2 separate regions of the Homo sapiens genome follow, and region 1 is linked to region 2. The links are contacts of gene promoters, found by promoter capture Hi-C in human tissues and cell types (Jung and others, 2019). All regions are on one chromosome and are shown on one strand. The core of a region is centred on a gene start or on the middle of the fragment in contact, and the rest is flanking DNA. Distances in the headings are between cores, read along the strand shown. Region 1 overlaps NETO2 (neuropilin and tolloid like 2). Region 2 holds the start of ABCC12 (ATP binding cassette subfamily C member 12).

Evidence for each region. Contacts are between HindIII fragments. The study calls those that stand out against the background at their distance.
Region 1: a fragment that was not itself captured here is called in contact with the fragment with the promoter of ABCC12 in region 2 in 2 of the 25 tissues and cell types used here (dorsolateral prefrontal cortex and mesenchymal stem cells).

Annotation. Positions count from the first base shown.
Region 1 is chr16:47,094,678-47,101,199 of GRCh38, reverse strand. All of the region lies in intron 7 of NETO2 (neuropilin and tolloid like 2), which reads left to right. Among named protein-coding and RNA genes, the nearest start is that of NETO2, 46 kb to the left of the region's middle. The HindIII fragment of the contact is 5,022 bases long and covers 2,688-6,522 here.
Region 2 is chr16:48,151,855-48,158,073 of GRCh38, reverse strand. It overlaps ABCC12 (ATP binding cassette subfamily C member 12), which reads left to right and starts at 2,081. Exons shown (of 31, transcript NM_001393797.1): 1 at 2,081-2,233; 2 at 4,190-4,458. RefSeq lists an enhancer at 1-97. The HindIII fragment of the contact is 12,201 bases long and covers 1-2,452 here.

The DNA.
Region 1 (6,522 bases), core at 3,949-6,448, 1.1 Mb after region 2:
TTGAGATAATAATGTGGTTTTTCTCATTGGGTCTGTTTATGTGATTTGCTTATGTTGAGCCAGCCTTGCATCCGAGGGATGAAGCTGACTTGATTGTGGTAAATATGCTTTTTGATGTGCTGCTGGATTTAGTTTGCCAGTATTTTATTGAGGATCTTCACATCGATGTTCATCAGGGATATTGGCCTGAAATTTTCTTTTTTGTTGTGTCTCTGCCAGGTTTTGTTACCAGGATGATGCTGGCCACATAAAGTGAGTTATGGAGAAGTCCCTCTTTTCTGTTGTTTGGAATACTTTCAGAACGAATGGTACCAGCTCCACTTTGTACCTCTGGTAGAATTTGGGTGTGAATCCATCTGGTCCTGGGCTTTTTTTGGTTGGTAGGCTATTAATTACTGCCTCAATTTCAGAACTTGTTATCGGTCTACTCAGGGATTCAACTTCTTCCTGGTTTAGTCTTGGGAGGGTGTATGTGTCCAGGAATTTATCCATTTCTTCTATATTTTCTAGTTTATTTGCGTAGAGGTGTTTATAGTATTCTCTGATGGTAATTTCTATTTCTGTGGGATCAGTGATTATATCTCCTTTATCATTTTTTATTGTGTCTATTTGATTCTTCTCTCTTTTCTTCTTTATTAGTCTGACTAGCGGTCTATCTATTTTGTTAATCTTTTCAAAAAACCAGCTCCTGGACTCATTGCTTTTGTTTTTTTTTGTGTCTCTGTCTCCTTCAGTTCTGCTCTGATCTTAGTTATTTTGTCTTCTGCTAACTTTTGAATTTGTTTGCTCTTGCTTCTCTAGTTCTTTTAATTGTGATGTTAGGGTGTCGATTTTAGATCTTTCCCACCTTCTCCTGTGGGCATTTAGTGCTGTAAATTTCCCTCTAAACACTGCTTTAGCTGTGTCCCAGAGATTCTGGTACGTTGTATCTGTTCTCATTGGTTTCAAAGAACTTATTTATTTCTGCCTTAATTTTGTTATTTACCCCATAGTCATTCAGGAGCAGGTTGTTCAGTTTCCATGTAGTTGTGTGGTTTTGAGTGAGTTTCTTAATCCTGAGTTCTAATTTGATTGCACTGTTGTCTGAGAGACTGTTTGTTATGATTTCTGTTCTTTTGCATTTGCTAAGGAGTGTTTTACCTCCAATTATGTGGTCAATTTTAGAATAAGTGTTATGTGGTGCTGAGAAGAATGTACATTCTGTTGATTTGGGTTGAAGAGTTCTATAGATGTCTATTAGGTCTGCTTGGTACAGAGCTGAGTTCAAGTCCTGAATATCCTTGTTAATTTTCCGTCTCGTTATCTGTCTAATATTGACAATGAGTTGTTAAAGTCTTTCACTATTATTGTGTGGGAGTCTTAAGTCTCTTTGTAGGTCTCTAAGAACTTGCTTTATGAATCTGGGTGCTCCTGTATTGGGTGCATATATATATTTAGGATAGTTAGCTCTTGTTGCGTTGATCCCTTTACCATTATGTAATGCCCTTCTTTGTCTTTTTTGATCATTGTTAGTTTAAAGTCTGTTTTATCAGAGACTAGAGTGCAACCTCTGCTTTTTTTTTTCTTGCCATTTGCTTGGTAAATATTCCTCCATCTGTTTATTTTGAGCCTATGTATGTCTTTGCACATGAGATGGATCTCCTAAATACAGCACACTGATGGGTCTTGACTCTATCCAATTTGCCAGTCTGCGTCTTTTAATTGGGGGCATTTAGCCCATTTACATCTAAGGTTAATATTGTTATGTGCGAATTTGATCCTGTCATTATGATGGTAGCTGGTTATTTTGCCCATTAGTTGTTGCAGTTTCTTCATAGTGTCAATGGTCTTTAAAATTTGGTATGTTTTTGCAGTGGCTGGTACCAGTTTTTCCTTTCCATATTTAGTGCTTCCTTCAGGAGCTCTTGTAAGGCAGGCCTGGTGGTGACAGAGTCTCTTAGCATTTGCTTGTCTGTAAAGGATTTTATTTCTCCTTCACTTACGAAGCTTAGTTTGGCTGGATATGAAATTCTGGGTTGAAAATTCTTTTAAGAATGTTGAGGCTGGGCGCAGTGGCTCACACACCTGTAATCCCAGCACTTTGGGAGGCCAAGGCAGGTGGATCACGAGGTCAGGAGTTCAAGACCAGCCTGGCCAAGATGTTGAAATCCCATCTCTACTAAAAATACAAAAATTACCCAGGTGTGGTGGTGGGCGCCTGTAATCCCAGCTACTCGTGAGGCTGAGAGAATTGCTTGAACCCATTGAACCCAGGAGGCAGAGGTTGCAGTGAGCCTAGATTGTGACAGAGCGAGACTCCGTCACATACACAAAAAAAAAGAATGTTGCATATTGGCCCCCACTCTCTTGTGGCTTGTAGGGTTTCTGCAGAGAGATCGCTGTTAGTCTGATGGGCTTCCCTTTGTGGGTAACCCGACCTTTCTCTCTGGCTGCCCTTAACATTTTTTCCTTCATTTCAACCTTGGTGAATCTGACGATTATGTGTCTTGGGGTTGCTCTTCTCAAGGAGTATCTTTGTGGTGGTCTCTGTATTTCCTGAATTTGAATGTTGGCCTGTCTTGCTAGGTTGGGGAAGTTCTCTTGGATAATATCCTGAAGAGTGTTTTCCACCTTGGTTCCATTCTCCCTGTCACTTTCAGGTACACCAGTCAAACGTAGGTTTGGTCTTTTCACGTAGTCCCATATTTCTTAGAGACTTTGTTCGTTCCTTTTAATTCTTTTTTCTCTAATTTTGTCTTCCCGCTTTATTTCATTAAACTGATCTTCAATCTCTGATATCCTTTCTTCCACTTGATCCATTCAGCTGTTGATACTTACATATGCTTCACGAAGTTCTCATGCTGTGTTTTTCAGCTCCATCAGGTCATTTATGTTCTTCTCTAAACTGGTTGTTCTAGTTAGCAATTCCTCTAACCTTTTTTCAAGGTTCTTAGCTTCCTTGCATTGGGTTAGAACATGCTCCTTTAGCTCGGAGAAGTTTGTTATTACCCACATTCTGAAGCCTACTTCTGTCAATTCATCAAATTCATTCTCCATCCAGTTTTGTTCCCTTGCTGGCAAGGGGTTGTGATCCTTTGGAGGAGAAGAGGAGTTCTGGTTTTTGGAATTTTCAGGCTTTTTGCAGTGTTTTTTCCTTATCTTCATGGATTTATCTACCTTTGGTCTTTGATGTTGGTGACCTTTGGATGTGGTTTATGTGTGGACGCCCATTTTATTGATGTTGATGCTATTCCTTTCTGTTTGTTAGTTTTCCTTCTAACAGTCAGGCCCCTCTGCGGCAGATCTGCTGGAGTTTGCTGGAGGTCCACTCCAGACCCTGTTTGCCTGTGTATCACTAGTGGAGGCTACAGAATAGCAAAGATTGCTACCTTTTCCTTTCTCTGGAAGCTTCGTCCCAGAAGGGCACCCACCAGATGCCAGCTGGAGCTCTCCTGTGTGAGGTGTCTGTCGACCCCTTCTGTGAGGTATCTCCCAGTCAGGAGGCATGGGGATCAGGGACCCACTTGAGGAGGCAGTATGTCCCTTAGGAGAGCTCGAGTGCTGTGCTGGGAGGTCTGCTGCTCTCTTCAGAGCCGGCAGGCAGGAACGTTTAAGTCTGCTGAAGCTGCACCCACAGCGGCCCCTTCCCCCAGGTGCTCTGTCCCACGGAGATGGGAGTTTTATCTATAAGCCCCTGACTGGGACTGCTGCCTTTCTTTCAGAGATGCCCTGCCCAGAGAGGAGGAATCTAGAGAGGCAGTCTGGCTACAGCAGCTTTGCTGAGCTGCGGTGGGCTCTGCCCAGTTCAGACTTCCCTGTGGCTTTGTTTACACTGTGAGGGGAAAACCACCTACTCAAGCCTCAGTCATGGCAGATGCCCCTCCCCCTACCAAGCTCAAGCGTCCCAGGTCAACTTCAGACTGCTGTGCTGGCAGTGAGAATTTCTAGCCAGTGCATCTTCGTCTGAAGGGCCCCGTGGGGGTGGGATCTGCTGAACTACACCACTTGGCTCCCTGGTTTCAGCCCCCTTTCCAGGGGAATGAACAGTTCTGTCTCGCTGGCGTTCCAGGCACCACTAGGGTATGAAAAAAAACTTCTGCAGGTAGCTCGGTGTCTGCCCAAATGGCCGCCAGTTTTATGCTTGAAACCCAGGTCCCTGGTGGTGTAGGCACCCGAGGGAATCTCCTGGTCTGCGGGTTGTGAAGACCATGGGAAAAGTGTAGTATCTGGGCCAGAATGCGCCGTTCCCTCATGGCTTCCCTTGGCTAGGGGAGGGAGTTCCCCGACCCCTTGAGCTTCCCAAGTGAGGTGACCCTCCACCCTGCTCCTACTCGTCCTCCGTGGGCTGTACCCACTGTCTAACCAGTCCCAGTGAAATGAGCTGGGTACCTCAGTTAGAAATGCAGAAATCACCTGCCTTCTGCCTTGATCTCATGGGGAGCTGCAGACTGGAACTGTTCCTATTCGGCCATCTTGCCCAGGAATCAACTGATTGGTGTTAATTCTTTACATGTTTAGTAGAATTCACCAGTGAAGCCATGTGATCCAGAGCCTTTCTTTGTTGAGAAGTTCTGGATTCTTTTTTTAATCTCCTTGCTAGTTTTAGGCCTATTCAGATTTTCTTTGGCTTCATTATGCAGTTTTGATTGTGTGTTTCTAGGAATTCATCCATTTCCTCTAGGTTGTCAGTTTGTTGGCATACAGTTGTTCTTAGTATTCACTTATGATTCTTTTTATATACGTCAGATCTGTAGTAATGTCTCCAGTTGCATTTCTGATTTTAATAATTTGAGTCTTTTTGTTCTTAATAATTCTAGCCACAGGTTTGTCAGTCTTGTTGATCTGTCCAAAGAATCAAGTTTTGGGTTTTTGCTCTTTTTCTGTTTTCTATTTTATTTATTGTCACTCAAATCTTTATTATTTTGTTACTTCTGCTAGCTTTGGATTTAGTTTGTCTTCTTTCTCTAGTTCCTTAAGGTATAAAGTTAAACTATTGATCTAAGTTGTTTCTTCTTTTTTAATGTAGGCATTTACAGGTGTAAATTTCCCTTTTACTACTGCTTTTAGTACTCTGCATAAGTTTTGGCATGTTTTGGGTTTCATTTGTCTCAAGGTATCTTATAATTTCCCGTGGATTTCTTTTTTGAAATCACAGCTTTAAAAGTTGTGTAAGAGTGTGTAGTTTAATTTACACAGACTTGTGAATTTTTTCATTTTCCTTCAGTTGTTGATATCTAGTTTCATTCCATTTTGATTTGAAAATAAATTTTATATTTCAGTCATTTAAAATATATTAAGACTTGTTTTGTGGCTGAACATACGTAGTCTATTCTAGAGACTGTCTGATGTGTAATTGAGAAAAATTACATTTTTCTGTTATTGGGTGGAATTTTCTGTATATGTTAGGTCCATTTGGTCTATAGTGGTGTTCAGGTCCTTTATTTTCTTATTGATGTTCTGCCTGGTCATTCTATCCTTTATTGAAAGTGCAATGTTGAAGTCTCCAATTACTATTGTACAAGTGTCTACTTCTCCCATCAGTTCTATCAATGTTTGTTTCATATATTTTAGGGCTCCTTTGTTTTTAGTCCATATATGTTTATAATCGTTATATCTTCTGGGTGAATTGACCCTTTTATCAATATACCGTGTCCTTTTTTATCCAAGACTAGTCTTGCCACCCCCTAGCTGTCTTTTAGCAACTATTTGCATGGAATATCTTTGTCCATCCTTTTACTTTCAACTTTTTTATATCTTTAAAGTGAGTGTCCTACAGGCAGCATATAATTGGATCTTGTTTTTTCCCATCAATTCTGCAATCTCTTCTTTTGATTGGAGAGTTTATTTATGTTTAATTGCTGATGAGGAAGGTTCTGTCACTTTGCTACTTGTTTTCTGTGTGTCTATAGCTTTGTTGTCTCTCATTTCCTCCATTACTGCCTTCTTTTCTTTAATTGATTTTTTTTTGTAGTGACAAGTTTTGATTCCCTTCGCATTTCCTTTTGTGTATATTTTATAGATATGTTCTTATGGTTACTATGGAGATTGTGTTTTTATGAACTGCTTAAGTTTTTAAAAGTTATCTTCACTATTTGGTAAGCATGTGGGAAGTTTTTCTTATTAAAGGTTGTAGCTCATACACAGACAACCACCACAACTTAAAAGTGGAGAAATTTTGAAGACAGATTTTAGGATTCTTCTTTGGGTTCCTAGGCCAGGCACAGCGGCTCATACATGTAATTCCAGCTTTTGTGAGGCCGAGGCGGGTGGATCGCTTGAGCTCAGGAGTTTGAGACCAGCCTGCCTAGCCAACATGGTGAAACCCCATCTCTACTAACAATACAAAAATTAGCTGGGCGTGGTGGTATGCACCACTCAGGAGACTGAGATGGGAGGATCACTTGAACCCAGGAGGCAGAGGTTGGAGTGAGCTAAGATTGCACCACTGCACTCCAGCCTGGGTGACAGAGCAAGACCCCGTCTCAAAAAATAAATGGCCAGGCGCGGTGGCTCATGCCTGTAATCCCAGCACTTTGGGAGGCC
Region 2 (6,219 bases), core at 832-3,331:
CCTTTTGTTACAAGAGTGTCAGCCATGACCCACATGACTGGTGAGGAAAAGTATCACACTTTTTCTCCCCTACACATGTATATCACTGTACACAATTTTTTTTTTTGAGACAGAGTCACTCTCATCATCCAGGCCTGAATGCAGTGGCACGATCACAGCTCACTGCAGTCCTGACTTCCCTGGCTCAATTCATACTCCCACCTCAGCCTCGCAAGTAGCTAGGACTACAGACACATGCCACCACGCCCAGCTAATTTTTGTATTTTCAGTAGAGATGGGGTTTCACCATGTTGCCTAGGCTTGTCTTGAATGCCTGGGCTCAAGTGATCCACCTGCCTTGGCCCCCCAGTACTGGGATTATAGGCCTGAGCCTCTGCACACAGCCAAAATAGAATTTTTAAAGGAAGAGGAGAAATATGAAAAGGATTTCTATTTTTTTTCTTTTTGTATTCCAGTGGATTATCTCGCCCCCCCGCGAGCTGTGTGTACACCCAGGATGGGCCTCAGTTCCCTGACTATGGGTGAGTCCACGCTCTGCCTGGAACAGGAGCTTGGCTGGTCTTTTCCTAAGGACTTCCTTGGATACAGACCGGACAGTCCCTCTCCATCATTCTCCACTCTGTTTCCGGCTAGGCCCACCAATCTTCTTGCGTAGCGCCCAATACTGTTTGTCTGGGTGGAAATCCATCTCCGCCCAGCCTTTCATGGAGATAGAGGAAAACTGATCGGCATTCTTCCTCCATAAACTTGACAGCACTTGACTCCGTTTGGAAGATTGTGGAAGCGAGTCTTTGCTGTGTTTATGAGACCCCCGGGGTTGTTGCGAAGATCAAGTGATAAAGAGGATGAAGAATTTTGCGATACACAAAGGGCTCCAGAAATGTCGAGTGATATTATTAGCAGTGATTTGCATTCATGAAGGGAAGAATGGACGGAAATTAAATGGAACACTTTGGACACGTGTAAGGAAACTGCTGTCGGTCTAGCTCACTCCCCAGGCCGGGGAGCCTTCCTGGGAGGACCCATTTTCCTACACAGCTGCCCACAGCCCCTCTCCATTTCCACCTCCCTCTAGGTAGGAAGGGAACTCAGGTTGGGCAAAGGCGGTGAATTCGCATCTCCAGGAAGCGGCGGGGCCGGAAGGCAGCCAGCAGGGGGCGGCATTGCGCAGGACAGGAGAAGGTAGCGGCCAAGTTCCTCATGAAATCCACGTGCGTGAGGCTGGGAAGGTCCTCTAAGATGTTTAAATAACCCTTAAAGCGGAATCAAGATTTGTTTTTTTCTGCAGTTAGAGAGTTTGCTCCCTCCCAGCCGGCTCGCTGAGCGCTGTGGAACCCTTCGGCTGGGCTCCCCTGAAATCGGGCGCTTGTTCTGGGACAGGCGCAGAAGGGACCCCGGGAATCACGCTTGCGCTCGGGATGTGCAGGGTTCCAAGGGTGACACAGGGGAACTTTTCTATGCAAGGGCTAGCTGCTAGTGCAGGTCTCAGACTTACCTTCCGTTCATTTCAAGACAAATTGAGCTCAAATTACCCTTTTCTTTTTCGTTAAATGAATGGGGAATGAATGAATGAGATTTTCTGTTTTGAAGATGAGGCTCATCTCCCCTCCCCTCGCCTCCCCTGCCCTCCCCTACCCCTGCCCTCCCCTACCCCTGCCCTCCCCTCCCCTCCCTTCCCTTCCCCTGATCCCAAAGTTGATTCCCGGTTGCAGGAACACAGCGTAGAAAATTCGATGCATTCTCTCAGGAAGGAGCCTGGAGTGGGACTCAGGGGACCTGGGTGCTGGTCTCAGCCCCACGCCAGTCGTGGACAGGCTTCTGTTCCTTGGGCTTCTCGTCTGTAGAATGACGGTTGGAGAGAGGATTTTTCTCCTTCTCTTCTACAAGGATGTGCTGTGACAGCCAGGGAAGGGCTGGCCATGCACAGTGCTTTCATGCATGGGCTCTGACTGTCACCAAAGAGCCAGACCCGGCCACAGGCCATCCTGGAAGAGGGGAGAGCCCTTTAATGTGGGCAGAGGGAATGTTGGCCCGCCAGAGTTCCCTCTCAGGTGTGGTGGGAGTGGCAGTTGAATGGGGCAGTTGGAGAGGAGGACTTCAGGCGGGTGGGACAAGAGAAACTGAATCTGAGGTCCTTGGGGAGAAGCAGGCCCTGGAGTCCTGGGCAGCAGATGCCAGGCTCTGAGCCCCATGACTGCTGACCCTCCTCCCCTCCCTCTCATCCTCAGCCCAGGTAAAGCTTCATTTCCAGCCCAGGTAAAGCTTCTCCCTGTAACAATTAGTGGCCACCATTTAGTCCCAAGGGCCTTTGTTTCTCATCCTCAGGACAGGCTGTGTGTGTGTGTGGTGGGGGGTTTGGGGGAGGTGACACCACTGAATGGGGCTGCCCAAGTGGGAGGCAGCAGGGACGAGGCTCCCAGAAGAAAGGCAGCCCCTCTTCCACTTTTGGAGCCCCCGCTATCATAAAAGAAAAGGCAGAAATGCCAAGACGCGATTTCAAAATCTCTGAAATACAAAAGCCTACATTGAATATTTTAAGTCTTTTCCCACACATGCACAAACACAAACACATATACAGGGTAGTGTTCACAATTTAATTATGGGATTTATACCTCCCCCCCAAAAAAAAAGACCTGGAAAGCTTTACTGCAGTTCTCATATGAGGTTTTCATCTTTCTTTCTTTTTTTTTTTTTTTTAACTTTTAAATATATTATTTTCCTGGGAGGGTAGATTTGAATTGCTCTGAATCCAGGCTCTGCATCCTTCTTTGATCGTGTCGGAATGTGTCTGTAACTGGATGGATGACCTCTTTTGGAGATGCCATCACTGGCCACTGTTTTAGGCCTTCTGGGAGATGAGGGTACTTGAGCAAAAGCACCCCCACTTCCCTTCCCACACCCCCAGCTTGGTGCTGTCCCCTGCATGCACTTCCCTCTGCCACCTCTCTGCCTCTCCCTGCCTCCCAACCCCAGTCCCTCATCACTCACAGGGCTTTCTGATCTGGCTGCCACAGGTGCCTGGGACCTGGGGACAGACAGGAGAGGTGCGGTGCAGGCAGGGCCTGGGAGAGCTCCCCAGTGTCTCCTCTGTGCTGGAGGCCAGTCAGGCCCTGGAGGAAGGGGCTGTGGGAGTTGGGGGAGACCATCAGATATTGATAACTTTGGTGGCTTTAAATTAACAATGGATTTATTAAGAAAGAAGTAGGGCTGTAGTCTCATACCTGGGAAAAATTTTATGACTAAAGGTGTGCCTGCTTTTGGTTGATGGAGGAACTCCCATCATGAGCACCAAGGAAGACCCAGAGTCCAGTTCTCAAACATAAAGTTGTTAATTTTCTGGGCTAGACAGGGGCAGAAATGAAATATAACAGAGCAAAGTGGGCAGGTGTGGAAAATGGTTCTTCTTGAGATGACTTCTAGACATCTTTTGTTCTCTCTTGGGGCAGAGACAAGGATAGAGAAAAAGGCCTCAGGAAACACTATAAGGAAGACAGCAGTGCCAATGCAATAATAAATGTTACATGACCCCAAATCTCAGAGTCACAGAGACAGTAAGGAGTGGTGGGGATTGTGGCAAACTAAAGCATGTATACCCTGCCCAGGAGGGGCTGCCGTGCTCAACGTAAGTGGATTGTCACCACATGAACATACAGAGCTCTTGATATTTGACGAAAGCCAGAAGCCAGTCTTATTTTTTTTTTAATGTGGTATCTCCTCATTTTTAAATGTTTTCCACAAATTGGAAAAAAATGTTTAAACTATGCAGGCCATATAAAATGGAACTGCAAGTTGTACATGGTCTTTGTGTCCTGTGCTCTAAACAGAGGCCTTCCTGCTTCTGCCTGTCCAGTCTGTTGAGGTTAGGTTAGGAACCCCCTGCCTGCTAGCAGAGGGGTGCACCAGTGACTTTTTGGCATCTCCTGCCAACCCTCAGATGCTCTGCATGGAAAACACAATGCCAAGAACAGAGCCATGATGGCTGCAGGGACCCTGGCCCGGTTGGCACTGCCTCCTCCCAGCTCTCATCAGCTGTGTACCCCTCAGACCCCATCCTGTGATTGCCAGCAAACAGATTTCTCACCCCAGGCAGCTCCTCACTCCTGGCAGAGGATGGCGTGACAGACGGGGATAGAGACGTTAGCCAAAGCAGGCTTCCTGATTTTAAAAAAAGTCTCATTTTTCCCCCCAGGGCTGCCAAATTTAGCAAAGTGCCATTCCAGCTGCAATGCTTCCAAGCCGCCTCAGATCATCAAAACTTCACATGCCCTGGGGAGCACTCAAGGAAATTACCTTCTAGCACCAATTTCCTATGCGCGCTGATTACTCAAACCTGGCCAGGGAGGCCTGGCCTCCAGTGTTTGGCATCTGGGACTCAGGAGCCCTTAAGACAAGCTGATGACATCTTGCTGCCAGGGTCCCTTACCATTAGAAAAGGGAACCAAAAAATAGAAGTTATAGGTAAGGGTTCTCCACTGACAATGAGTTCCACCTTCTCAAAGGGGCTGGGAAAGATTAGCCTGGATGAGAGAGGACTAGCCACTGGGTGGCTGGGAGTGAGTTGTCGGAAATGACAATGGTCCTCAAATATCACAGGGCACATGAAGAGGACATCAGTGGAGGATGCATGGCTCCTGAGAGCTGAGAAGTGTGCAGAAAAATTGCATTTAGTTCCACAGAAGGAAAAAAAAATCATCCCCTTTAGGGCTATTTCTTTAGAAAATGCTTAACTTTTTATTTTGTAATGATTTCAAACTTACAGAAAAGTAACAGAAATAATGCTAAGAGATCCCAACTACCCTTCACTGAGATTTGCAGTGACATTTTTGCCACATTTACTTTAGCATTAATATCAAAATCAGGAAATTTATCTTTGATAAAATATTATTGCAGAATCTATAGTCCATATTTAGATTTCTCCAATGTTCCAATACTGTTCTTTTACACATTTCATTTACTTATTTTTATTTTTTTAGAGCAGGAGTGAAAATTTATTAAAAAGTTTTAGAGCAGGGATGAAAGAAAGTAAAGTACACTTGGAAGAGGGTCAGGCGGGTGACTTGAGAGTCAAGTGCACAGTTTGACCTTTGACTTGGGCCAATAATGTTCTTTATAGCAAATTAATTTTCTTCTGGTCAAGCATCCAATCCAGGCTTGTGTGTTGCTTTTAGCTGTCACATCTCTTCTGTATCCTTTAATCTGGGATGTTTCCTCACTTTTCTTTGTCTTTCGTGCAATTGACGTTTTTGAAGAGCACAGGCCACTTGTTCTGTAGAAAGCTCCTTTGGGTTCATCTGGTATTTTCTCAAGACTAGACGCAGGGTATGCATTTCCTGCAGGAATACTGCATGCGGGCCGTCTTGAGAAGAAGTGACTGGGGTCTGTCACCAAAGCATGTTGAGGCCCGATCTGGTGGGCCAGAGGGAAATTCTCCCTGAGAGGCTGGTTTGCCATGTCTTGGATTCTATGATTCTCCCCCAAATAATTTCAGCTGGGTTTCAGAACTTGCCGTGAGCTCTTTCTTCTTCATCAGCTAACCTGCTTTCCTACCTCTGCTTTGCTCAGGTTACCAAGGGCAGGGCAGTGGCCCAGCGGCCACTGGGAGGTCGTAGGTTGTTGATCATGGACCACAGCTTGACTGTCCGCTGTGCCCGGCAGTTGCAGAGCGGGTGGACATGTGGTAGAAAGACCGTGCCCAAAGGCCGTACTTGGGTTCAGGCTTCTTTTCTTGCTTCCGATCCAGACCAGGGCTGGGTTCTGTTCATGCAGGGAGCCAAGGACCTATGCAAGAATGAGAGGCCAATTTTTAAACTTTTCAGCCCCAGCATCTCTGCAGTGGATAGCCTCCCTCTGTCTCCTGAAGTAAATGCAGAGAGGTCAGCAGGAGGCTGTTCTGAGTGGAGGGTGCCTTGGGTACAGAAAATTCTGAAGGGCTTTCTGGTAAACAAACAAATGGAAGTCTTGTGGAAAAGGATCCAAGGAAGGTTTTGAATCTGAAGTCTTTCACGGTCATGCCAAGCCTTGTCTCGACTCTTACCTAAGTCTGGTGCATAGAGCCCCATGACACGGGCACACCACACAAACCAAGGCTCAGGCAAAAATCTCTGTTTGGGCTTTTTCTCAAATCCTTCTAGTCTCACCTCCCACAAAAGTCCTCCCTAACCCCGTCCTCCTCCCAGACCGTATTGACCTCTACTTTCTCAGAACTTCTGTAGCACAGGT